7 separate regions of the Homo sapiens genome follow, and regions 1, 2, 3, 4, 5 and 7 are each linked to region 6. Evidence: promoter capture Hi-C in 16 types of primary human blood cells and fetal thymus (Javierre and others, 2016). All regions are on one chromosome and are shown on one strand. Each heading gives the region's core, a stretch centred on a gene start or on the middle of the fragment in contact. The rest is flanking DNA. Distances are from core to core; before and after follow the strand shown.

The links. Contacts are between HindIII fragments. The CHiCAGO score rates a contact against its expected background, and 5 or more counts as called.
Region 1: the fragment with the promoter of C16orf92 here is called in contact with the fragment with the promoter of ATXN2L in region 6 in 2 of 17 cell types (total B cells and fetal thymus); the score reaches 5.2 in total B cells.
Region 2: the fragment with the promoter of HIRIP3 here is called in contact with the fragment with the promoter of ATXN2L in region 6 in 6 of 17 cell types (fetal thymus, monocytes, naive CD8 T cells and 3 more); the score reaches 16.1 in fetal thymus.
Region 3: the fragment with the promoter of TAOK2 here is called in contact with the fragment with the promoter of ATXN2L in region 6 in 1 of 17 cell types (non-activated CD4 T cells); the score reaches 5.9 in non-activated CD4 T cells.
Region 4: a contact is called between the fragment with the promoter of TBC1D10B here and the fragment with the promoter of ATXN2L in region 6, in 3 of 17 cell types (total B cells, monocytes and fetal thymus). The highest score is 6.4, in total B cells.
Region 5: a contact is called between the fragment with the promoter of SRCAP here and the fragment with the promoter of ATXN2L in region 6, in 2 of 17 cell types (non-activated CD4 T cells and total B cells). The highest score is 7.1, in non-activated CD4 T cells.
Region 7: the fragment with the promoter of RNF40 here is called in contact with the fragment with the promoter of ATXN2L in region 6 in 6 of 17 cell types (monocytes, total B cells, non-activated CD4 T cells and 3 more); the score reaches 9.7 in monocytes.

Annotation. Positions count from the first base shown.
Region 1 is chr16:30,021,647-30,024,620 of GRCh38, forward strand. C16orf92 (chromosome 16 open reading frame 92) reads left to right here and starts at 1,552. Exons shown (of 4, transcript NM_001109659.2): 1 at 1,552-1,758; 2 at 2,081-2,239; 3 at 2,353-2,440; 4 at 2,560-2,974. The coding sequence starts at 1,695. The coding sequence ends at 2,581. It overlaps TLCD3B (TLC domain containing 3B), which reads right to left. Exons shown (of 5, transcript NM_031478.6): 5 at 2,781-2,974. It also overlaps a transcript of DOC2A not described here. The HindIII fragment of the contact is 16,537 bases long and covers 1-2,974 here.
Region 2 is chr16:29,993,520-29,996,921 of GRCh38, forward strand. It overlaps HIRIP3 (HIRA interacting protein 3), which reads right to left and starts at 2,098. Exons shown (of 7, transcript NM_003609.5): 1 at 2,022-2,098; 2 at 1,824-1,944; 3 at 1,584-1,698; 4 at 387-1,324; 5 at 121-289; 6 at 1-38. The coding sequence starts at 2,086. It overlaps INO80E (INO80 complex subunit E), which reads left to right and starts at 2,722. Exons shown (of 7, transcript NM_173618.3): 1 at 2,722-2,872; 2 at 3,028-3,098; 3 at 3,289-3,341. The coding sequence starts at 2,792. RefSeq lists enhancers at 1-88, 89-589, 2,446-2,615, 2,676-2,805. The HindIII fragment of the contact is 4,684 bases long and covers 1-3,393 here.
Region 3 is chr16:29,972,090-29,975,168 of GRCh38, forward strand. It overlaps TAOK2 (TAO kinase 2), which reads left to right and starts at 1,779. Exons shown (of 16, transcript NM_016151.4): 1 at 1,779-2,559. It overlaps TMEM219 (transmembrane protein 219), which reads left to right. Exons shown (of 6, transcript NM_001083613.2): 6 at 861-959. It overlaps LOC124903762, which reads left to right and starts at 1,533. Exons shown (of 2, transcript XM_047435036.1): 1 at 1,533-1,691; 2 at 1,908-2,546. The coding sequence starts at 1,533. The coding sequence ends at 2,546. RefSeq lists a silencer at 1,469-1,838 and enhancers at 2,262-3,033, 2,740-2,869. The HindIII fragment of the contact is 1,984 bases long and covers 1,483-3,079 here.
Region 4 is chr16:30,368,790-30,371,970 of GRCh38, forward strand. It overlaps TBC1D10B (TBC1 domain family member 10B), which reads right to left and starts at 1,705. Exons shown (of 9, transcript NM_015527.4): 1 at 439-1,705. The coding sequence starts at 1,394. It also overlaps a transcript of MYL11 not described here. RefSeq lists silencers at 1,131-1,210, 1,301-1,590. The HindIII fragment of the contact is 4,560 bases long and covers 1-3,181 here.
Region 5 is chr16:30,697,449-30,700,455 of GRCh38, forward strand. It overlaps SRCAP (Snf2 related CREBBP activator protein), which reads left to right and starts at 1,723. Exons shown (of 34, transcript NM_006662.3): 1 at 1,723-1,794; 2 at 2,460-2,533. It overlaps LOC730183 (a long non-coding RNA gene), which reads right to left and starts at 1,612. Exons shown (of 2, transcript NR_144637.2): 1 at 1,433-1,612; 2 at 259-483. RefSeq lists enhancers at 534-623, 654-843, 1,500-1,794 and silencers at 964-1,373, 1,514-1,743. The HindIII fragment of the contact is 7,629 bases long and covers 1-3,007 here.
Region 6 is chr16:28,821,494-28,824,531 of GRCh38, forward strand. ATXN2L (ataxin 2 like) reads left to right here and starts at 1,506. Exons shown (of 22, transcript NM_007245.4): 1 at 1,506-2,065. The coding sequence starts at 1,767. It overlaps LOC124903672 (a long non-coding RNA gene), which reads right to left and starts at 2,549. Exons shown (of 2, transcript XR_007065042.1): 1 at 2,401-2,549. RefSeq lists enhancers at 785-1,521, 1,033-1,242 and a silencer at 1,563-2,712. The HindIII fragment of the contact is 7,883 bases long and covers 1-3,038 here.
Region 7 is chr16:30,760,843-30,764,211 of GRCh38, forward strand. It overlaps RNF40 (ring finger protein 40), which reads left to right and starts at 1,480. Exons shown (of 20, transcript NM_014771.4): 1 at 1,480-1,518; 2 at 1,633-1,835; 3 at 2,276-2,443; 4 at 2,576-2,717; 5 at 3,337-3,369. The coding sequence starts at 1,704. It overlaps PHKG2 (phosphorylase kinase catalytic subunit gamma 2), which reads left to right. Exons shown (of 10, transcript NM_000294.3): 10 at 1-334. It overlaps CFAP119 (cilia and flagella associated protein 119), which reads right to left and starts at 1,220. Exons shown (of 9, transcript NM_001014979.3): 1 at 703-1,220; 2 at 356-387. The coding sequence starts at 906. RefSeq lists enhancers at 1-344, 309-458, 1,049-1,228, 1,184-1,821, 1,309-1,568 and 2 more and a silencer at 543-772. The HindIII fragment of the contact is 4,015 bases long and covers 1-3,117 here.

The DNA.
Region 1 (2,974 bases), core at 302-2,801, 1.2 Mb after region 6:
GGAGGAGGCCCGGGAGTCCGCCCCGCTGCGCCTTTCCTAGGGTGGGAGCGTGGACTCAGGCGCGGCCGCTGCTGCCACCTAGTGGGAGACGCCTGCTACTCCTCTCGGTTCCTAACCCCAGGGTCGTTCCCGGCTGAGCACTAAGGAGGGGGCGGGGGAGGACGGAGAGAGCCCTGTGCCCCTGGATCTGCGGATAGGATGCAAGGGGGAGCCTCAGAGAGGAACCCCCCCCCCAGGAAGTGTGCATTGCCCACACTACTTTTCCCCTCTGTGCCGTGATTTCCTCCCGTGTATAAGGGAGGCAAGAGTACCTGCCTCTGGGCTGGGCTTGGTGGCTCACGCCTGTAATCCCAACACTTTGGGAGGCCGAGGCAGGCGGATCATCCGAGTTCAGGAGTTCAAGACCAGCCTGGCCAACATGGTGAAACCCCATCTCTACTAAAAGTACAAAAATCAGCCGAACAGTGATGGTGCGCGCCTGTAATCCCACTCCAGGAGGCTGAGGCAGGAGAATCGCTTGAACCCAGGAGGTGGAGGTTGCAGTGAGCTGAGATTGTGCGTCTGCACTCCAGCCTGGCGGACAGAGTGAAACTCCATCTCAAAAAAAAAAAAAAAAAAAAAAAAAAAAAAGAGTACCTGCCTCTGAGGGTCAGTGCAAGAGCAAATGAACAAATTTGTGCAAGGTACTTGGCCATAAATGGGGTCCAGCCAGCATAGTAATAGGTGTTCAATAAATGCTACCTGCTGGGCATGGTGGCTCATGCCTGTAATCCCAGCACTTTGGGAGGCCGAAGCTGGAGGATCACCTGAGGCCAGAAGTTCGAAACCAGCCTGGGCAACATAGCAAGCCCTCATTTCTACAAAAAATGCAAAAATTAGCCGGGCATGGTGGCACATGCCTGTGGTCCCAGCTACTCAGGAGGCTGATGTGGGAGGATCACTTGAGGCCAGGAGTTCAAGGCTGCAGTAATCATACCACTGTACTCCAGCCTGGGTGACAGAGTGAGACCCTGTCTCTGAAAATACATAAAATAGGCCGGGCGCTTTGGGAGGCCGAGGCGAACAGATCACCTGAGGTGAGGAGTTCAAGACCAGCCTGACCAACATAGTGAAACCCTGTCTCTACTAAAAATACAAAAATTAGCCGGGTGTGGTGGCAGACAGATAAAAGGAAGGGATTTATCCAAAGCTGTAATCCCAGATACTCAGGAGGCTGAGGCAAGAGAATCACTTGAACCCAGGAGGCAGAGGCTGTAGAGAGCCAAGATGGCGCCACTGCATTCCCACCTGGGTGACAGACAGAGACCCTGTCTCCAAAAAAATGAAAATAAATAAAACAAATGTTACCTGTGGTTGATCCAAGGGGTAACCGGAGGTGTGTGGCCCTGTGCCACCACCCCAAATTGTGCCTGTTGTCCAAACACAGCTTCCTTTAGTTCGGGCTTTCAGCAAGATGGCCGTGCCGCATCCCTCCTCTTTGTAAATGCTGGGGCTGCCACCATTATGGTTTTATCATCAGCGACATTCCAGGGGGTGAAGACTGGTCCCAACCTCTCTTCTCCTCTCCTCTTCTGATGAGAGTGAGGGATGGGGGAGGGGTCCCAGCTCCTAGCACTTTCTCCCCTCACCCCAAAGTGCCATCAGAACAGCTCTGGGCTGTGACATCACAGAGCCCCCACCTCATGATAGGAGTCATGAGGCTGTGGCCATGGGTGCTGGTGTGGGTGTGGCTGGCTGCACTAGGGGCCATAGAAACTGGTAAGAAGCTGTCTTGGGAGCAGCAGGAAGGCAGGCAGCTCTGGGAGCATAAAGTGTGATGCCCACTTAGGGACTCGGAAGCCAACCCTGCACCCTCTCATTTTCTCTCCACTCTTCTCTCCCATCCTGCTGGTCCCACCTACCCCCCAACAACCGCGAGCCTTGTCGTGGTGCACCCAGCTGACCCTGAGGGAAATCAAGACCCTCCACAGCCTCTGCAATAAGGCTGGGTGGTCTCACAGGGTCCCAAGTCAGCTTCCGCCTCGAGAGATAAAGGCAGGGGTCAGCTTGGCTGTTGTCACAGAGTTTGCTTGGGTCCTAGCACCCAGACCCAAGCGTGCCACGGCGTCAGCCCTGGGGACAGAGTCTCCGCGCTTCTTAGACAGACCTGACTTCTTCGATTATCCGGACTCAGACCAAGCCAGGCTGCTGGCTGTGGCCCAGTTTATTGGAGAGAAACCCATCGTGTTCATTAACTCAGGTATGAACCAGCTTGAGAAGGGACCTCCCTCCCCGCCAGGGTCTGGAGGAGAGCAGCCCCAGACCCTTCATTGGGCCATCAGAGGGGAGTTAAGGGTCCTGTTTGTCTAGCAGGTTCCAGCCCCGGGCTCTTCCATCACATCCTGGTGGGCTTGCTGGTGGTGGCGTTCTTCTTTCTCCTTTTCCAGTTCTGCACCCACATGTAAGGCCTGCCCCCTTTCTCCAACCCCACCCACCACCACCTTCCTTGGGAGCGGCTGAAGACCCCAGTTCTAGCGGGGCAGGCTGTGACCTCTCCCCTCTGATCTCCATGCCCCACAGAAACTTCCAGAAAGGGGCCTAAAGAGCCGGACAAGGGCTCTGGACTCAACCTGAGCACCCACACCCACCTCCTCTCCTGTTGATGAGCAAAAGTTCCCTGCTTTCCTCCTCCCTGACTGCCCAGCGAGCAGCTGGGGATCCTGTCCCCTCTGTTTCCCATGGCCCAAGCCCCCCACCTCCTCCCTTCCCAGCCCCAAAGAACTTGGTGGCAAGGGCCTTGGTGGCGTTCACGCAGATCGTCTTTTATTAGCGGTCTGTAAAGCACCTCCCAGGGTCCCCCGACCCCAGATTGGAGGAAGCCTTGAGAGGTCAGTAGCACCAGGGACATGGCAGGGCCCGAGGGCGCGATGTGCAGCCGATGGTGAGGGACTGGGCGCCCTCGCCTGCCCCCGGGGTTGTCAGCACTGGGAAGGCT
Region 2 (3,402 bases), core at 848-3,347, 1.2 Mb after region 6:
CTCCTTCAGGGCCCGACACTTCCCTAGGGAAGGGGTACCTGGGGCAGAAGAAGCTGGTGATTCTCTCCTCCCCAGCAGGAAGGCCCTCTCCTGCAGCCCCCAGGGCACGCCGGGCCTCACCCTTCATGCCTAGCGCTTCCAGTTCTGCCCGGAGGATACTCAGGCGCTCCTTGTGTGAGCAACAGGAGCCCAACAGCTTCTTGTAGTTTCGATGGGCACCACAGGCCCGAATGTAGCGCTTCAGCCTCATCACAGCCGGGTGGTCCTCTCCACGGCGACCTGAGCCAGCCTAGCAAGGAAAGAGCAGCTGAAGGCCAAGCCTGCTGGGCCTGAGGCAGGGTCTCCCTCTTCCCTAATAGTGGCCTCCCACCCCTCCTCACCCTCACCTTCCCTCCTTTGGCCTCTGGACTTCCATCTGAGGAGGAAGAGGAGCTTCGTGTCCTGCCTTTCCTGGAGCTCTTCTTGGAAGAGCGGTTCTTCCTCTCCCCCTGGGGGCCTCCCCCTGCCTCGCTGTCACTTACCTCCCTCTCCAAGTCACTTTCCTCACCACTGGTGCTGCCCAGTCTGGCCATCTTTCTAGAGCCTTTAGCTGTGGGTTCCCCCTTCCCACTGTCTTCCTCGTCCTCGCTGCTTCCACTCAACCTCTTCCCACCCTTAAGCTGGGTCCTGTCCTCACTCTTCCTCTGCACTGGGGGTTCTCTATCTCTCCCACTGTCATCCCCACTGCTGGCTGCCTCTTTCTGCTCTTCCTCGCTGTCTGAGTCTCCCAAGAGCCTCTTTGCCTGGCTTTTCTGCTTACAGCTCCTCTCCTCCCTAGCTGACTTTCTCCGGCCATTGCTCCTGGTTCTGGGTTTCCAATCCCCCTTTTCCTCATCCTCTTCTTTCTCTTCCTCCTCCACTTCCTCCTCTCTCTGCTCTTTCTTCTGGGCTAGGATCTCCTCTTCACTCTCCTGTTCACTTTCCTTCAGGCTTTTAGTTCCTTTATTTCCCTCCACCTTCTTTGCTGTCCTCTGAACGGGTTCTGCCTCGCTCTCCTCACTTTCTTCCCTGGCCTGCTTCCTACTGACTGAGGCCTTGCCTGGTGCCTGCTTCTTTACCACAGGTTTCTTCCTAGTCTTCCCCTTGTACCCCTTTTCCTCCTCCTCACTGCTCTCCTCTCCCCTCTGTGCGGGCAGGTCCCTCTGCCGTTCCTCATCACTGCTCTCCTCAACTGCCTTTGAGGCTCGCCTTGGATTCTCCTCTTTGGCTGGGCTGACTTCTGCTGCCACCCCATTCTTTGCTGGGGGTCCAAAGTAGTCTGGGCTGGAGGCTTCAGAGCCGGACTCTGGAATATGGAGAGGAGAGAGGGTTGAGACAGGCTCCTCCTGTCCCTTCTCCCTTCACTTCGGATAGGTTGCCTCGAGCCCTGCCCTGACAGTTGGAGGGGCAGCAGGAAACAGCTATCTGTACTTGCTGTTCCCGGTTCCTGACTCACTAGCCTTGCTCCCTCATCTAACGCCTGGGGACATAAGAGATGCGCAGTGAATGCTTCTTGAGTGAACCAACGATGCAGAAGGCCCCCACAGCAGGGAGGAAGCACTAACCCGACTCTGAATTGAAGCGGAACCTTTTTCTCTCCGGGTCGCTACAAGGGGTGGGAGGCCTCTTGCCCTTCTTGGTAAGGTCCAGTTTGTCTTCCCTGGAAGCGGCTTCATCCACCTGTGTGTGCGCCAAGAGGGCAAACTATGCACCAAGGCTGCGCTCACCGCGCCCCGTCAGGCCCCTCCTCCTCAGCAGCAAGCCCCGCCTCCGCCTCCCGCGGCCCAGGCTCCGGCCCGGCACACCTGCATCTTCAGCAGCTCCTCCTCCACCAGCCGCTTCAGTGCCTGCTTCTCCTCGGGCTCCAGGTGGCTGCGGCCCGAGTGAGCTAAGTACCTCCGCCGCACGATGGAATGCGTAAGCGTGCTGCAGGGACATGGTGTCAGGACGGAGTCCCGACCCACCCGCGCCCTTTCCAACCCCATCTCCAACCCCCTGGGCACCTGAGGTCCGGGCGGCCTCGGAAGAAGCTACGGGTGAACTCCTGCATCTCCTTCTCCCGCGCCATTTTGCTCAACCCGGGATTGACGGCTCCCGCCTTTTTTTCTTCTCGGCCTCCGTCAGCGCGTTTGACAGCGGCTCGCGCACGCGCAGTGCTGCGGCAACGTGGGGCGAGGGACCGTTGGCCCTTGGCCGCGGACCGCGTGGGCCGAGAACTTTGCCAGACGAGACTTGTTTTCTCTGGGCAGTTGGAGGGTCTCGCGGCTCCTACCCTTTTTTGGAACGGATCATTTTAAAAGTTCTCGTTAGAAACCAATTCGGCGCCGGCACCCTTTGGGTGAAACCTAATCAGCCCGCGACGCTGCCTTTCTCACTGGTCACGGGCAACAGCTAGGCTGCTGTTATTTCGCAAGGCAGAAGAGAAAAGGCATCCTCGCGAGCAGATGAGGAACCTCGGGGATAAATCCTTTTGTGGCTTCAAGTGTCTAAGTACATTAGAGTCAGGAACGGCGCTTTCCAGCGTCCGCCATTTTTGTGGCGTCACCGCGTCGCTGCTACGCCATCCCCAGCGCAGTGGCTGCCGCGCTCCTGTCCCAGTGTCCCCCGGGAGGTCGGCCCGTGCGGTGACGCCCCTGAGCGCGGGGTACGCCGGGAGTTGTAGTCCTGACGGCACAGCCTTGCAGCGTCTCCGGAAGTGGAGGCGGGAGCGGCACGGCAGCCACTGCTTGGGGTAGCGGGAGGGCAGACTCTGGGCGCCACTCCCGGGCCGGTCATGAACGGGCCGGCGGACGGCGAAGTGGACTACAAAAAAAAATACCGGAATCTGAAGCGGAAGCTCAAGTTCCTCATCTACGTGAGTGCTGCCGCGGGAAGGCTGTGGGGGATGAGGCCTGGCGCGGACAAGATCTCAGTTTACCCAGGTGTAAAGTGGGTGGGGCGAGCGGCCGCTGGTTCCGGGGCCCTTCACGGAGGACCGTTGGCCCAGCGCACCCCTTGCCCGTGATACAGGAGCACGAGTGCTTCCAGGAGGAGCTGAGGAAAGCGCAAAGGAAATTACTGAAGGTGTCCCGGGACAAGAGGTGAGGCACGTTGCAGGGGCGGAGGGCGATGTGCTTCCTAGGAAATCTACATTCGGACCCCATCCCCGAGTAGGGCCACAAGTGCATGGGCTCTTTCAAGTATCCGATGGGCCAGCTGGGAGGGACAGGTACCCAGGAGGACATTGCTGCGCTGGAAAATCACTGTCCGTGTCTCCTTCCCTCCCCTCAGTTTCCTCCTAGACCGACTTCTGCAGTACGAGAACGTGGATGAAGACTCTTCGGGTGAGCAAGGTCTTCAAAAATTGGTGGAGAGCATGGTTCCTGGTACTTAGCAAGCTTCCTG
Region 3 (3,079 bases), core at 529-3,028, 1.2 Mb after region 6:
GTGATTTTAAGACTCATAACTAGTTCACATCCAAGCATTTGGGTAACAATGGTGAGTTAAGAGGGTTCACATTTGATGATTTGTCCTGAATATGAACCATGTTTGTCTTGCTTTTGTCCTGAAATTCCAATACCCAGTTTTATGATGGAAATTTTGTAAAATTCAACTTGAACCGCTCAGAAGAGTCTAACTGATGATACTCATTTACTGGGGACATAGTATGTGCCCAAGAACTTGACATGCACCTTCTGTCTTCCATTTAGTCATCGTTACCTTTAGAAAAAGCTGATTCCGTTAACAAGATCTTTGGAGGGAATCAGCTTCACAAACGTAGCAGTGGGTGGGGGTCATGTTGGTTAACCAGTTCACACATCAGCTCACTAAAGGAAAAAATATTTCTGCAAAAAATCTTCACTTGTCAGAGGGGGGTGCATGAAATTTGAGAGCCATGTGTTATGCATCCAGCTCTTGAACTGGTCTCAGCTTCAGCTGGCTGCAGTGCCCTAGGAAGTTACTATGGGAAAAGTGGAAATAGTTGAGGCCCAGGGAACTGATCAGGCCAGAGGAAGTGGAAGCTCAAGATCAACTGTGCTTATTTTGCTGATGGCTGGGCCTAAATGCCCCAACCACCTACTTGGGACAGGAAATGACAGGACCCTCTCAACCTTGGACTGGGAAAGGAGGGCTTCCTGGCCCCTGACAGACCCTGGGGTCCTGAGGCTACCTTAGTTGGGATTAAATGCCCGTATTGGTCTCTAGCTGTCACTCCCTCTGCTCCTTCCTCAATTTCTGCACACATCTCAGAGCTTCCTCTAGCAGCTCTTCGACCTGTTTTGTTGTTTTATTTTCTTTCTCCCCAGGTGTGAATCAACTTCTTGGGCCTTGGCTCTGAGTTGGAAAAGGTTTTAGAAAAAGTGAAGAGCTGGAATGTGGGGGAAAATAAAAAGCTTTTTTGCCCAGTGGCGTGTATGGTGTTTATTGGGGGTTGGATTGAGGTGGGGATTTTAGGGTAGGCAGGCTTAGAAGTTTTGGGGGACTCTTTCCTGTTGACTCTCTAGTTTGGACACAGGTTGGCATAGGGCATAGGTTACTTGAGCTCTCCCCATGGTTGACTTGGCTTTGGTAAACACCTGTCTTGTTTTCTTCTACGAAATAAAATGGATAATTACAGTTAGTTGGGCGGGTGGGGTGTCAGGTCATGGAAATGCTGTGACATAAATGCACTGTGACCTTGGCAAGTCTTGCAACCTGCAGCGCCTCAATTTCCGTAAGAGATTTGACCGATTGAGTTTTCCCAGCGTCGACGCGCAAAGATTCCTCGCACTTGGAGGCCCTTTTCCAGGTTAGATGGTTGCTAACCTCGGAGCAGTCTATTTTCCCGCCTTTTCCGCGCCCAGCAGCAGCTTCCTTTGCCCCTCCCAACTTCCACCCTGCGCGCAGTCGCAGATCGCCGCTGCTGTCCGTCCACCCGCGCCCCCTCAAAGCTTCCCCTAGCAACAAGCTCGGGCTCAGAGCGAAGGCGGGGCGAGCGCATGCGCTGCAGCTCTGTCCACCGCCAGTCGTGGGACAGAGTGCCGGGCTCCTCCCCTTGCAAGTCTAGCTCTTCTCCCCGCCTCCTCCGGCCTGGGGTCCGCGTGGCGGGGCGGGCGCGCACTCGGGCTTGGCGGCTGCCGGTCTCCCAGGCCGCGGCAGTGAGGAGAGAGGGCGGGGCTGAGTCCTCTGCGCCCCCGCCCCCTTTAGCCCGGCGTCCCTACCGCGCCTGCGCGCTCCCGCCCGGTCTCCATCTTGGAATTGGGAGGAAGAGGGAGAGGGAGACCGGGACGAGACCGGGGCTGTGGTGCGGAGAGAGGCTGAGACGGAGAAGAGGAGAGGCAGAGAGGGCGCGGGGACCGTCAGCAGCACCTTAGCTACAATCGTTCAGCTATTCTCGGAAGAGAGAAGGGAGAGGGAGGAGGCCGGGGCGGGAGTGGGGGCTGTCACCCTCGGACCCCGGCGTGAGAGGGGCCGTGCGGCCGGACGTCCTCGGGGTGGGCCCCCAGTCGGTGGCCGAAGACCTACAGCTCAGGCCCCTGGGTCCCAAATTTCCAGGCTTTGCCCCTCCTCCTTTCTCAGATACCCGGGTAACAGTCCTCATAGTCCAGATATCCGGGACTCGGGTCCCAACCTCTCTAAACCTGGGTCTCTGTTTCATAGAATTTCAAATATCAGGTTCAGGCCCCTGCGTGCACCAGTATCCGGGGTTCATTCCCCGGGCGTTCAAATATCGGATTCAGTCTCCATCCCGTTCAGATATTCGGGGTTCAGACCCCACAATCAGAAATCCGGAATTCGGCAGCTGTCGCCCTCGACGAGGGGGAGGACTGGACCGCGAGGTCAGATTAGGTTGTCACCCCCTCCCCTCCAGGGGAGGCTTCCCGGGCCCGCCCCTCAGGAAGGGCGAAAGCCGAGGAAGAGGTGGCAAGGGGAAAGGTCTCCTTGCCCCTCTCCCTGCTTGGCAGAGCCGCTGGAGGACCCCAGGCGGAAGCGGAGGCGCTGGGGCACCATAGTGACCCCTACCAGGTGAGACACGGGGTGCAGGGGCGCGGGTCCCTGTGTCTAGTTCTGAGAAGAAAGGGTGCGCCTTTCTGAGAAGCTGGACTTGGGTAGGCCCTCTCAGGATGGGGAAGCCCAGCTGAGCGAGTGGTCAGCCTCTGGCTAGCCTTGCCTTCTGTTGCCACCCCCTTCCCCTTCCTCTTCCCTTCATTGTGTCTGGTTGGTGGGGGACCTCAGGTGACAGGGTCTCTGATGTCACCGGCGTTCACACCCTAGGGTGCTTCAGCTAATCAGATGGATTTGCACTTCAGTCTTCTCTCCTTCACTTTGCCCCTCACAGCCACCTCTCCTCCCTGATATGTCCCGTTCTCCTGGCTATTCTGTGGTTTTGATTCCCATGCCTCTGATTCCCATGGTGGGTCTGCTTATCTGCTTTTCAGGCCTGGTCTGGTTGGATTTCTTGTCCTTGCAAGGAAGTGTGTGTATATGTGTTTGTGTGTATGCGTGTGTGTGTGTGCTTGGAGGTGCCTGGCAATGTTTTCCCCCA
Region 4 (3,181 bases), core at 455-2,954, 1.5 Mb after region 6:
TCCCAGGCTATCCACCCTAAGGGACCAAGGGTCTCTACCAGAACCCTCGCCCAACCAACCCTCCAGAATATCCGGCCTGTAGCTGGAGTTCCCCATCAAAGAGCAGGGATGACCTCAGGTATCATCTCATTCAATCCACTTTATAGAGGAAAAAACTGAGGCACGGAAATGGGGAAGCCACTAGCTCAAGGGCACACAACCCATCAAAGGCAAGGCTTAAACCCAGACCTCTTGACCCCTGGTCTGAAACTCCACTAACATGCCAATGTCACAGGCACCTCAGGATGCTCAAGACACGGCAGCTCGCGCTGATCACCCCGTGGATCCTCAGAGGAGGCTGGGCTGCCAGAGTCTGGGCAAAGTGTATCGTTTTCGTTTCGCCCTCCCCCAACCTTTGCTTCCCCGAGGCGGTCCCGCTGGGTGCCCACTGGTACTCACAGGCTGCCCGAGTACTGGCTGCCCCCAAGGAAGCCATACTTGTCCGTCTTGCGCAGGGCCAGCCCGTTTATCTCTGAATCTGAGCCCATGGAGCTCACATCATCCGCCAAGGACTCCAAGGTCCCAGACATGAGGCTCACGGAGTCCAAGTAACTCAGCGTGTCCGGGGCCTGCCCTCGAGGCCCAGAGATGCCAGGTCCCAGGCTGGACGTGGAGCCCAGGTCTTGAGAGTTTTCAGCAGGCTCCGGAGCTGGGGTCACGGTCACGACAGCTACCGGAGCCTCACAAGTCCCAGAGGGGCCTGTGCCAGGGCCTGAGGGGTCCTCAGGAGCCTGTCCTGCTGATGCTGATGTTGCTGCGGCAGCTCCATGCCCACCTGTCACTTGTCCTGATGCACTCCGTGCAGTCACTCCTGAGGCCACTGTGGTTCCCGGCTTGGGGGCAAGCGGGGGTTTGGCGGTCAGGGCACCAGGAGCCGTTCTGGAAGGGGTCCTGGTAGGGGTCCCGGTGGGGGTCCCTGGTCCTGGGGCGGGTGAGGGTCGAGCCTCCTCTGTCTTCGGCGAGTCTGCCCCTGCGGCCAGAGCCCTCGATGTCTCAACTCCAGCCACTGCCGCGGGCTCTGGGGATTCCGGGCCGGAGGGGAGCTGCGGCTTTGGGGCTTCGGGCGAGGCCTCCAGGGTCAGCACCACCACCGTGCTGCCCGTGACAGCCGGGGCTGGGGCCGGGGCTGGGGCCGGGGCCGGAGCAGAGGTCTCGGCCGACCCCGGGACCCAGGCGGGCCGCGCCTCCCCGGGGGCCACCAGGGTGACGGGGGCCGAAGTGGCCGTAGTCACTGGAGGTCCCGGAGCCACCACCACGACGGGCCCGGCCCGGGAACCCCGGGGCGGCGGCGAGGGGGCCGCGGGGGCGCCATGACGGCGCGGCGGGGCCACCAGGGGCGCCGTGCCCGTCTCCATGGCCGCGGGCCGCCCCTCACATCCCCCCGCCGGGGAGGCCGCAGAAGGCGCCGCCCCTCGGGCCTCCCGGCGAGGCCAGCCGAGAAAGGGGAGAGGGCGAAGGGCGCGGCTCGGCGCGCGCCGGGGGCGGAGCGGCCGCTGGGCGCGCAGAGGCGGGGCAGGGGTCGGGGGGCGCCGCGCGCCGGGGTCTCTCTCGAGCCCTCTCACCCCCTCGCGCGCTCTCGCCACCGCCCCCTCCCTCCTGCTTGGGGGCGAGCCGCCGACCTCGCGCCTGCGCACACGCCGCAGAGCCGGCTCCGCGCCAGCGTCTCGGCGTTCCACGCCTGCGCGCGGACTGGCTCATCGCGCTCCTTTTTTCTCCCGCCTAGTCAGAGGATTTGGACGAATAGTGGGAGAGAGAGAACTGGGCTTCTGCCAATCGTTGGAATCGTGGGCGGGGCTGGAGGCGAAAAAGGGGTGGGTCATCTGGAAAGAGGAAACGGAGAAAGCTAGGGCTGTAAGACCAATCAGAGGACGAGGAAAGGCAGGGGGCGATGGGACGAAAGAAATAACCAATAGAAACGCAGGGGTCTGAACCTCCTGGCCAATGAATATGACTGAAGGGTGAATGACCGCGGAAGGGCGGAGGAGGAGGCAGGGCTGTGCGAGTAAGAGGTGGGGCCTGGAGGCTTCTTAACCAATAGGAATGGTAAAAAGGGAGCCAATGAAAAGGGGAGCAGGTGGAGGTCAAATTGACAGGCAGTGATGTCTATTTAGGCGGTGACAGACAGCATCCGCAGTCAATAGGAAGAGCTGAAGAATTCTTTAGGTCTCCCAAAATGGTCAGTAAGGAATGACAGCTGGGAGGAGGCGGGGCAAGCTAGAGATTAATTCGCCCCGTCAGCCAATGATCGTGTTCTCCCACTTTGGCCACAGGACAGGAAAATAGATAGCTGTCTCAGCCAATGGGAGCATCCAAAGGGCAAAGATGCTGCCAGCAGGCGGTGCCAGCCCAGGGATAGTCGGTGACAACCGGAGACAAGCCTTATGGGAGGGTGACAGCTGGGGACAGCACGGAGAAGGGGCGGGGGCATTAGTGCAGCCCTCAACCAATGAGTGCCGCGCTGCCCCCTCTCGAGTCCTTTCCGGTCCCCTATTCTTCGTTCAGCTCCTGAGCCCCACACTCTGGTGGTCTGTGGGACCCTGAGCCCCACCACAGATCCAGTGCCCTGACCCAGTACTCTCATCCTTTACTCTATAATTCTCCGATCTCGGCCCCCAACTAACCCCAACACTCCAGGCCCAGGTGGCAATAGCCAGAGCCCCCAGATCCTATAAGCAACCCATATCTCTGCTTCACCCATTTCCTGCGGGAATCCCAACCTCCAAGTCCCTCTCCTCAGTTCCCATCTATCTGAGCTCCTCCCCAGAACCCAGGCTCCAGTTCCTCAGACCTTATCCCTCTGAGTACCCCCTCCATTTCTTCTAGTGGGGATCTCAAACCCCAAATCCATGAATCCCTAATACCATGAACTCCCCATATGTGTGTTACTATTCTTTTGGGGATCCAAGGCCCCAGTCCCGTCAACCCCTCTCCCCTCACTGCCACATCCCTCTGTGCTCCTCATGTTCCACTGAGAATCCCGACCTCAATCTCATGAGCGCTCCAGGTTGTCCTTAGATCACAAGCATAAAGACCTGACGTTATGAGCTCCAACCTTCCAACTTCTAAACGCCCTCTTCTTTCTCTGACCCCCATATTCTGATTTCCATATAGCATCCACCATCCTGGAATTCCAGTGAGACCT
Region 5 (3,007 bases), core at 473-2,972, 1.9 Mb after region 6:
GGGACCAACAATCCTCTTCGCAGGGAAGAGCTAAACTGAATGGAGGAAGGGGAGCTTCATCAGGGCTTCCTAACCTGGCCTCTTAGCGGGGGCTTTAGGTGGTAAAATTTTATGACAGCGAGTGCATTCTTGTGGCTTAGACTGCTTGGCTAGGAATCTTGACTTCAGGATCTGTCACTGTGTTTTAACGCCTGAGCCTCAATTCGTTTGTAAAATGGAGCAGTTAGGATTAAAAGAAATAATCAAGGCACCAAGTAGTGTCAGTAGAAGGTAGCTGTTATTTATTGTTCTATTCTGGGGTAAAGGTATCAGATTCTCAAAGGGATTCTTAATCTAGAAAGTTTGCGAAGAGATGGCAAAGGTGTTTGAAAGCTATCAGGAAACCATCCTCGCGTAAAACGAAGCAGCGCTACAGAAGTGGGCTGCCATGGGAATCGGGAGGCCCAGGTTCCACTGCTAACTTGCTGCAGCTTACTGGGTGATCTGTAAATAAAAAGGGAGGTGGCGGTGGTCCGAGCTGGCAGCCGCAATGCAGCCCCAGGTAGATCTAGGGGCAAACGGTAAAGGCGCTCCGAGGAAGGGCGAGCGCGCAGCCTCTGGGAGACTACACCTCCCAGGCTGCCTTGCGCACCGTGCTGCACCCTACGCTAGCACGCGAGCCTCCCCGTTCCCCCACCCTCCAGTTACTGTCTCTCGCGAGAAGACGGGCCGCGCCGGCGATAGCGATTCCGAGCGAGTGGTGGTGGTAGTGGTGGTGGTGGCGGCCGAGACGGCGGCGGCCATTTTGGTGAGGCCTCGGGAGCGGCAGCGGCGGTTCGCTGGGAGTAGCGTCTGCCCTTTTTCCCACCCACCGTCCGCATCTGTGTGCTGCGCGAAGAGGCAGTGGAGGCAAGGCGGTGGCAGTAGCCGCAGTCTCCAGGGGAGTTTAAAGGCCGCGAAGGCGGTGGCCAAGAGGGGGCCCTCCCCCCTCCTAGGCGGGAGGGGGGGTGGTGCGCACGCCCCCGAGGACGCAGGTAAGGAGAGGGAGACAAGATGGCGAACGCCCCACAGTTCCCCCTCCCATGACGGCTGACTGCGCGCGCATCTTTCCGCCACCGCCTCCCCCCCACCTTCCCGGGGTGCTGCGCGCGCACCCTCAGCCGGGGCCCCGGGGCCGGTGCGCGAGGCTGTCGGCGCGCGCCCATAGAGACAGACTGAGGGGGTCAGGCCGGCCGGCGCTGGGCCCCGGCGTGTCTCCTCTCCCTTCCCGCCCTTCTGCGCACGCGTGCCTGAGCGAGCGAGCGAGCGAGCGAGCCCTGAGAGGACGGACCCAGGTGCGCTCCTGCCCGCCCACCAACCCAGTCACCCCTCAGGGGCGCGCGGGAAGAGGAAGGGGGGCGTGGGACGAGTAGTCGGGGCGCGCGCCCACCACATCTAGCCGGGGGACCAGGACCTGGTGGCACGAACCCTCCCTTCTCTCAGCCTTTCGCGGTCGGGTGATGGGGGGGCTCCCTGACGGGCTTGGATGACGAGCTTCCCAGCCCCGCGACCCTTGTGTGCGTGGGCTCGGGTTCTGGCGGGAGCCCCTGGGCCGTGCGCGCAGCCGGCTCGCTCCGCCTCCAGCCGCGCACGCGCGGGCCCCTCCCCCGCCCGGCGCGCACGTTGGGTGGGGTGGGAGTCTGGAGGGGGCGGGGCTATCTCAGGGCTAGTGGCAACTTGGGCAGAGGTCAGGGGTCACGCGAGGTCAGTCCGTCGGGAGGGCTAGGGAGATGGTCACGAAACCTGAAGTCAAGAGTTAAGGCTTGTTGGCTTCTGGTGAGCTCGGGTCTTGGGAACGTGTGGCGGAGTAGGGAGTGAATCAAAGCCGGCACTGTGGTTTAGGAATTTCCTTAAACACTGGGGAAGCATTTCCGGGCCTCCTGCGGGTTCACACTGCCTGTTTCCGGCGCGTGGTTCTTGGCAGTGCGGCCTCTCGCTTTTGACTGCTCCTGAGTCTCCTTTTGCTGTGGTTCTTGTATTTGGGGAAGTGTCTCAAGGCGCAGGTATGGGATATACAGCGCCCTGCCCTGAATCCTGGGCGGATTTTCCTGTGACCAGCCTGTTTGTTGACTCTTCCCGGGAGTTCCACTCTCACTTCTGCGTTCAGCCCTCACTGGAAAGGCCCGCAGGCAGGTAGCACCTTTCTGAGGTTCTGGATGTGACAGCTTTTTTTTGCTGTATTTTTTTTTTGTCTTCCATTCTGTGGTTGGAGCCTTTACACTTAAAATTTTTGAACTTTCTTTCTTCACTCCTTTCCTGCTCCTGCCCCCAGGCAGGATCGTATGTCCCTCCGGAATTCACAAAACATGATTTGCATTTCCCTGAAATGTGAGATTTTCCTACTACTGTAGTTTTTCTGTTTCTAGTCTTTTAACTGATTTGGGTATATTTAAACGTCTCAAAAAACTGGAGTAAATAATACGCTTTGATGGATGTTTCAGGTGTGATTCCCTTCAGTACGGCGGCACCGTGGAAGTGCAGACTTTCACAGGGGGTGTGGTCTCAGCTCACACAGGTGAGGGATCTGCTACCATTTTGTGTGCTGATGCTAATGGGAGAAATGTTTGAGATAAAGCAATTATAGGTCCGTATTGGGGATTTTCACTCTAGAGAAGCATGGGAATGTTTGCATGTGATTTTTCTGTAGAGGGTTTGATTATAGTACAACAACAGAACTGAGGCTGTGGGTTGAGGAAAACGTGGTCAACCTGGCTCTACCAGGAAGAGTAGCAGGTTTTCCTTGGTTTTGGCATCAGACTGTGGATTGAAGCCCTCCTATCACTTTTTTACTGTGTAACCTTCCGCAAATCATAAGGTCTTAACTTCGTAACTTACAAAACAGATTATATTAGAATGTAAGCTACATTTAGGTCGGGAATCCTTTCTGCATGGCTATATCCGTTGTGTGTAGGAGGAAGTCAATATTTGTTATGCTGTGAAAAGCACTTGGTTTTTAAGGTAGGTGTGAGGATTATAGAACACATCAAAC
Region 6 (3,038 bases), core at 256-2,755:
CCGCCTCCTTGGTTCAAGTGATTCTCCTGCCTCAGCCTCCTGAGTAGCTGGGATTACAGGCATGCACCACCACGCCTAGCTAATTTTTGCATTTTTAGTAGAGACAGGGTTTCACCATGTTGGCCAGGCTGATCTCAAACTCCTGACCTCAAACCTCCCAAAGTACTGGGATTACAGACCATGCCCAGCCTCTTTTCACTTTCTTAAATAAGCTCCCCACTGCTTTGAGGATAATGTCCGTGTCTCTTACAAGACTTGGGAGCCTTTAAAACCTGATCCCAGATTAGCTACCTCTTCCCCCCTTTAATTTTATGCTTAGGACAAGCTGAGTTTTTCTTAGTTTGTCATATCCTATTTCCCTGCCTAGAAACCCATCTCCCCCTGCCCTCTTATCAGTTTTTTTTTATAATTTAAATTTTTTTTTTTTTGTAGAGACAAAGTCTCACTTTGTTGCCTAGGCTGGTCTCAAACTCCTGGCCTTAAACGATCCTTCTGCCTCGGACTCCCAAAATGTTAGGATTACAGGTATGAGCCACTGCGCCCGGCCCTCCTGTCCCTTATCTGGGTCTCCCAAAACTGGATTAAGATTAGGTGTCACTCCCATTTGCTCTTGTAGTCCTCTGTGCTTCACCTACTAGATCTCGTCAAATTCTCTGAATTCACCACTAGCATGAACTCCTCCAGAGCAGGAAGCAGTTTAATTATCCTTGTGTCCAAAACAACTAACTGAATACTCCAATGCCCAACTCATTTTGAATGAATGAAGCTGCCTTCATTGCAGGGTCGGGTGGAGGATTTTGAACTCGGAACTTTGGCCTTCAGTCTTTGTTATTACAGTTTAAAGATTCATTCTCGGGCATGGAGGAACAATTTAGGTCAAAATCACAAAAATCTGAAATAATTTAGGACGAGGCGTAAATTTATCTGCAAAGATCAACACGCTCAAACGAATCACTAATGCTCATCAGTCTTTTACTTAAAGCAAACAAGGTGGAGGGTAGCTCCTTGCGAAACCTACCACCTGCCTAAAAGCGCAGTGGCTCGGGTGGTCCAGTCCCGGAGACTTTCTTGGCACTTAAGGCTCTGCCCACGGGCCGCCAAGTGGCGGAAGAGCCTCACGCACGACGTGCCGCCTCACACTCCCGCGGAGGCATCGCGACGCAGCGACGGCGTGGGCGGAGAGGCCGGCCCTTCCTCTGGCGCCTTCGGCTCCTCCCCCTGCGCCTCACACGCTCATTGTGAAGCGACAGCGGCCGCCGGCTTCTAAGGCGGTTTGAGACCTTAAGACCCTAAATCCTTGGCGCGCGTGAGCGCCCGCGCCGCTCCTTACCCACTCCCAGGGCTAGGGGTGCGAGGTTCACCGACTTGATTCTCTCCCACTTTCCCGCCGGGAGCTAACCGCGCCGGTGTGCGCGGCACCTCGCGCCACTGCTCGCTCCTGGCCCCCCCCCCCCCCCCCCCCCCCCGGGAGCTCCCACCCGCGCGCTCCTCCCTCTCCGCTCCCCGGCGACGCGCACGCGCGCCAGCCCGGCTCGCGCCCTCTCGCTTTCCTCCAGCCGCGAGACCCCCTCCCCTTCCGCCTCGCGGCGCTTCCTCGCGCCGCGGTCTTCTCTCTCCACCCCCGACACCGCGGGGCTCCCCCCGCCCGCCCACGGCGGGCCCCGGCTGCCCGATCCCCCTCGCTTCCCGCGCTCTCCAGCGGGGCCCCAGCCCCGGCCCCCTCTCTCCCTCCCTTCTCTCTAATTCCCCTTCCGGACGCTGCCATCATGTTGAAGCCTCAGCCGCTACAACAGCCCTCCCAGCCCCAGCAGCCGCCCCCCACGCAACAGGCCGTGGCCCGTCGGCCCCCCGGGGGCACCAGCCCTCCCAACGGCGGCCTCCCGGGGCCGCTGGCCACCTCTGCGGCTCCTCCCGGGCCTCCAGCGGCCGCCTCCCCCTGCCTGGGGCCTGTGGCCGCTGCCGGGAGCGGGCTCCGCCGGGGAGCCGAAGGCATCTTGGCGCCGCAGCCGCCGCCGCCGCAGCAACACCAGGAGAGGCCGGGGGCAGCCGCCATCGGCAGCGCCAGGTGAGAAGGGTGGGCTCCGGGCGAGGGAGCCGCGGCCACCCAGAGGCTGTGGCTCGGTTCCGGTGGGGCGGACCCCGACCCGGCACCGTCAGGGGCACCGGCTGGGTGGGGAGTCCCCGTGAAGCTGGGGGAGGGCCCCCTCAGGTCCGAACAGGTCGGACGGAAAGGGTCCCCGGGCGGCCACCGGAGCACTGAGGGGCCGCGCTCGGCTCTCGGGGCCTAGTCAGGGCTCGCAGCCCCGGCCTTCAGGGGAGGCGGGGCGCATCCCGCCGGCGCCGTCGGAACGGGGAGTTGGGGGGGGGCAAGGAGCTGATCGGGGTCCCCGGTTCCATTACCACGAAGGGTCTCGCGGTCCCCGGCTTCAGCCAATGGGGAGTCTGCTGCGGGAAGGGGTCCCCGGCCGTAGCCAATGGAGGGGGGCGCGCGGCCCACAGTTTGGCCAATGGGGAGGGAGGGACTTGGGAGCGGGTTGCTGCCTCCCCCTTCCCGGTCTGGCCAGTAGGAGGGGAGCGAGGTGGGCGGGGGGACGGAAGGAGGGATGACTGGGAGGACTGCGGGCCGGGAGCCTCTGGCGCGCGCGCCCCCTTCCCGTACGTGCGCGTGGATGCTCGGTCTCATGACCCGGGCATTCGCGCGCCCCGGGAACACCTAGGGCAGGGACTAGTTCGTGGAGGGGCTCGTCTGGTGGCAGTGCATGAGTAGTGGAGGCCCTGCTCAGTTTTTCCTGTGCGAGTGTGTGTGTGTTAATGGAATTAAGAGTGGCAGCACACGCAGGCGCAGTGGGCTCTGATCGCTGGAGGTGGGGGTTCGGAAAGTCCCGTGGGTTTTAGTGCGCAGGCGCAGACCGGGCGAGGCCTCCCGGTGGATGGCTTTTGCGGCTGCGCTGTCCCCCAGCCCCGCCAGCGGCCCCCTCTTCGCCCTCAACCGCCGGTTACATCAGCCAGCGACGAGCAGGGTTACCTGGCGATTGGTG
Region 7 (3,369 bases), core at 230-2,729, 1.9 Mb after region 6:
CCTCTCCATTTCTAAAGCCTAGGGTTAGGAATCTTGAATTCTTTTTTCTGCTCTGCCACTACCTTGTATGACCTTGGTCAAGTACTCCCTGTGGCCCTCAGTGTCCCCCTCTGTACAATACTCCTTAGCGGCCATGAGACTCCATTTACATTCTGTCTTTGGCTCTTTTTTTCTCACACTGCCTCCTCTTTGGACTGGAGAGGCTGGAAAGCCAACTTCCAGTCACCTGGAGTAATTGCATCTCCAGGCCTCAGTCTCATCTGTAAAATGGGGATGCCCTGGCCACAGACAGGACTGTTGGGGAGACAATAAAGAACGCAAATATTCAGTGTAATTTTTGTCTCTTCACACTCACCACATGCAGATCCGGGGTCGGGGCAGCGGCGGCTGCGGAAAGAAAGCGAATTGGGGAAGGCAGCTGCGGTGTCCTGGCCCGTAGCGAATCTCCAGCAGGCCGGAGAAGCCGCTGTAACTTGCCATCTCATCTCAAGGACTAAGGAGAGGCGCGGGCGAGGGAGGGCTTCAGCAGGCCCTAGGTGCTCTACGCGAGCACAGTAACCACCGGGGTCACACACCCCTGCCTCTCCTCGCCCAAGCAGCCCGGGAGACGTCCCGAACGTTAGTAAGCATAATGACAGGTGGCGCCTGCGGGGGAGCCGGTTTATAAATATTCACGAGCAGACCAGACTGTCCCGCCCTCACCGGAAACAAGTTGGCTCCGGGGTCTTCATCCGCTTTCGCCGCCGCCGCCGTCGTCCACTGAGTCCGCACACTCGCACGCGTCCGCGCGGCCGACCCATGCACTGAGCTGCGATCCTTCCCCGCTTCCCGCCGCAGCTCGGAGAGATGTTCAAGCTCCGACTGCACCCTCATTCCCAAAAAGTGGCTGGTCTTGCGGTTGAGCATCTCGCCGCTCTTCCGTGCCGCGAGGCGCCCCGGGCTCCCGCCGCCTAGGTTCCAGGACAGCCAGCGCTCGGTCGGCGGCTACCAAGGCCGGGCCCGTTCGCCTCGCTCCGGCCAATCTACGCGCGGAGAGGCGCGGCGGGGCGAATCCGTGGGGGCGTCTCCCTCCGTCTCAACGGCGACGGTTGCCAAGGGGGCTTGTGAGGGAAGGAAGGCGGAAAGCGCAGGCTCACGCCAGTGGGAGCGAAGAGAACGCGCAGATACGTGAGAAGTTGCGAGTGCCCACCTGGGCGCCCTCTCTTCCAGGTTGCTAATACGAGGGCCGGTGCTGTCCTCCAGGCTGGGAAGTGGGAGCGCGGTGTCAGTTACTATGGGAACTGCCTCTTGGCCAATCACCGAGAGAAAGAGGAGGTGTTTGGGAAGAAGCCAGAGGACCCGAGTGGCGGGACCAAGCGTAACCAATAGAAGCAGAAGATAAAGAAGTTTCCTCACATCCGGGGCTGCCTTTGGCGCCTGCGCCCTGCGCACCGTTGGGGGGGGGGCAGTGGCGTCCAGTGACGCCCAGTGACGTCCGGTGAAATCCAAGATGGCGGCGCTAGGCTGACCCTCCTGCTGGTGAGGGCTCTGGCGCCGGGGGGGACGGGATCCAGCAGGTGTGTGCAGGGTGGAGGGTGTTTGGGGCTGTGGAACACCAGCCGTTCCCACATCTCTGCTCTGTGTCTTCTGCAGGTGACGGAAGTACCGCCTCCTCCCGTTTGACGCCCCTCAGGGGACCCTGCATCGCTCCAGCCGCCGCGGCCATGTCTGGGCCAGGCAACAAACGCGCCGCCGGCGACGGGGGCTCAGGGCCCCCGGAAAAGAAGCTGAGTCGTGAGGAGAAGACCACCACGACTCTTATCGAGCCCATTCGTCTTGGAGGCATCTCTTCCACGGTTCGTGGGCTCTTGCCTTAACCCTCAGAACTTCCCAGAGCCCTCCCTCTGTTCTCTGGCCAAACTGTGCGGAATCTTACACCCACTTCCCCAAGTTTAGCAAGGTCCGCGTTACAGGACCTTGAAAGAAAGGTTAGAAAGAAGCTCAGAACACGACGCCTGTCTTCCCTTTACAGATAGGAAAACAGGTTTCCAGGGGGCGTGTGACTTGTCAAAGACTAAGGATTTACAAGGGGACAGGCAGAAACAACGTGAGCCTCCTCACAACAAAGACACTTTCGCTGTGTGTTGTCTGAGCCTCCTTAGATTCTGTTAGCGGTTAGTGTGGGAATACCTCCATCTCCCATGCATTGCAGATGCTCTGCTCCTCTTTCTCTCTCTGTGATTGGTTTGTGGGCCCTGCTTGACGCTCTCGTCGGCCCCTTTGTTTCCTTTGGTAGGAGGAGATGGACCTGAAGGTACTACAGTTCAAGAACAAGAAACTGGCAGAGCGGCTGGAACAACGGCAGGCTTGTGAAGATGAACTCCGAGAACGAATTGAGAAGTTGGAGAAGCGGCAGGCCACAGATGATGCCACACTCCTCATCGTCAATCGCTACTGGGCCCAGGTGGATACCTTCTGCTTTCAAAGACCAGGCCTTGATTCAGCTGCCAATCCCCAGATTCCCCTGCTAGGAAAGGAGTATCATGTTGGAAAGCACTAAGGGATTCATAACATTTTTGATGTTTTCTCCTTCCAGCTGGATGAAACTGTGGAAGCCCTTCTCCGATGCCATGAGAGCCAGGGGGAGCTGTCTTCAGCGCCTGAGGCACCTGGGACCCAGGAGGGGCCAACATGTGATGGGACTCCTCTCCCAGAGCCGGGGACATCAGAGCTGAGAGGTAGGACCAGAGTGCTGGGATCTGGGGAGCTTAAGTTCTGGGAGAAGTCCTGGGGAGGAGGGGACTTTGGTGTTGGGCCCCTGAATTGCCTATCTTACTACTTCTCACGAAATGGATTTCATGTTTGGGCAGTAAAGTGCAGTGCACAAAAACACAGGCTTTAGACTCTGACTAACTTGGTTTATAGAGCAATTCATGTTTTGACACCCATTTGTTTCAAAACAGTATTATGGTTGAGTATTAAATATGTATTTGACGCTTCCTAGAAATGAGTGTTGCACTTGCTATAAGGGAGGAAATTATAAACATAGTAAGCAGAAAGTACTGGGGCTCCTGAAACGGAATGATTGTGTGTGCATGCATGTGCGTGTGATTCTAATTATATTGGTAAAGTACAGGAAGCTTCCCTGAGGATGTGATACGCAACTCTGTAGCTTTGAGGAAATTACTTTACCTCCCTGAATTTCATTTGTCTCACTTTCAGGATGGAGATAATAGTGCACTATAGGTTGTGTTGATTAAGTGAACCATGAGTATTGAAGGGCTCAGTCTGGAACTTGGTACAGAGTGGTAGTAACTGCTGCTCTTATCCTCATGAGGGTCTGTCCATTCCTTCCAGACCCCTTGCTGATGCAGCTGCGGCCCCCTCTCA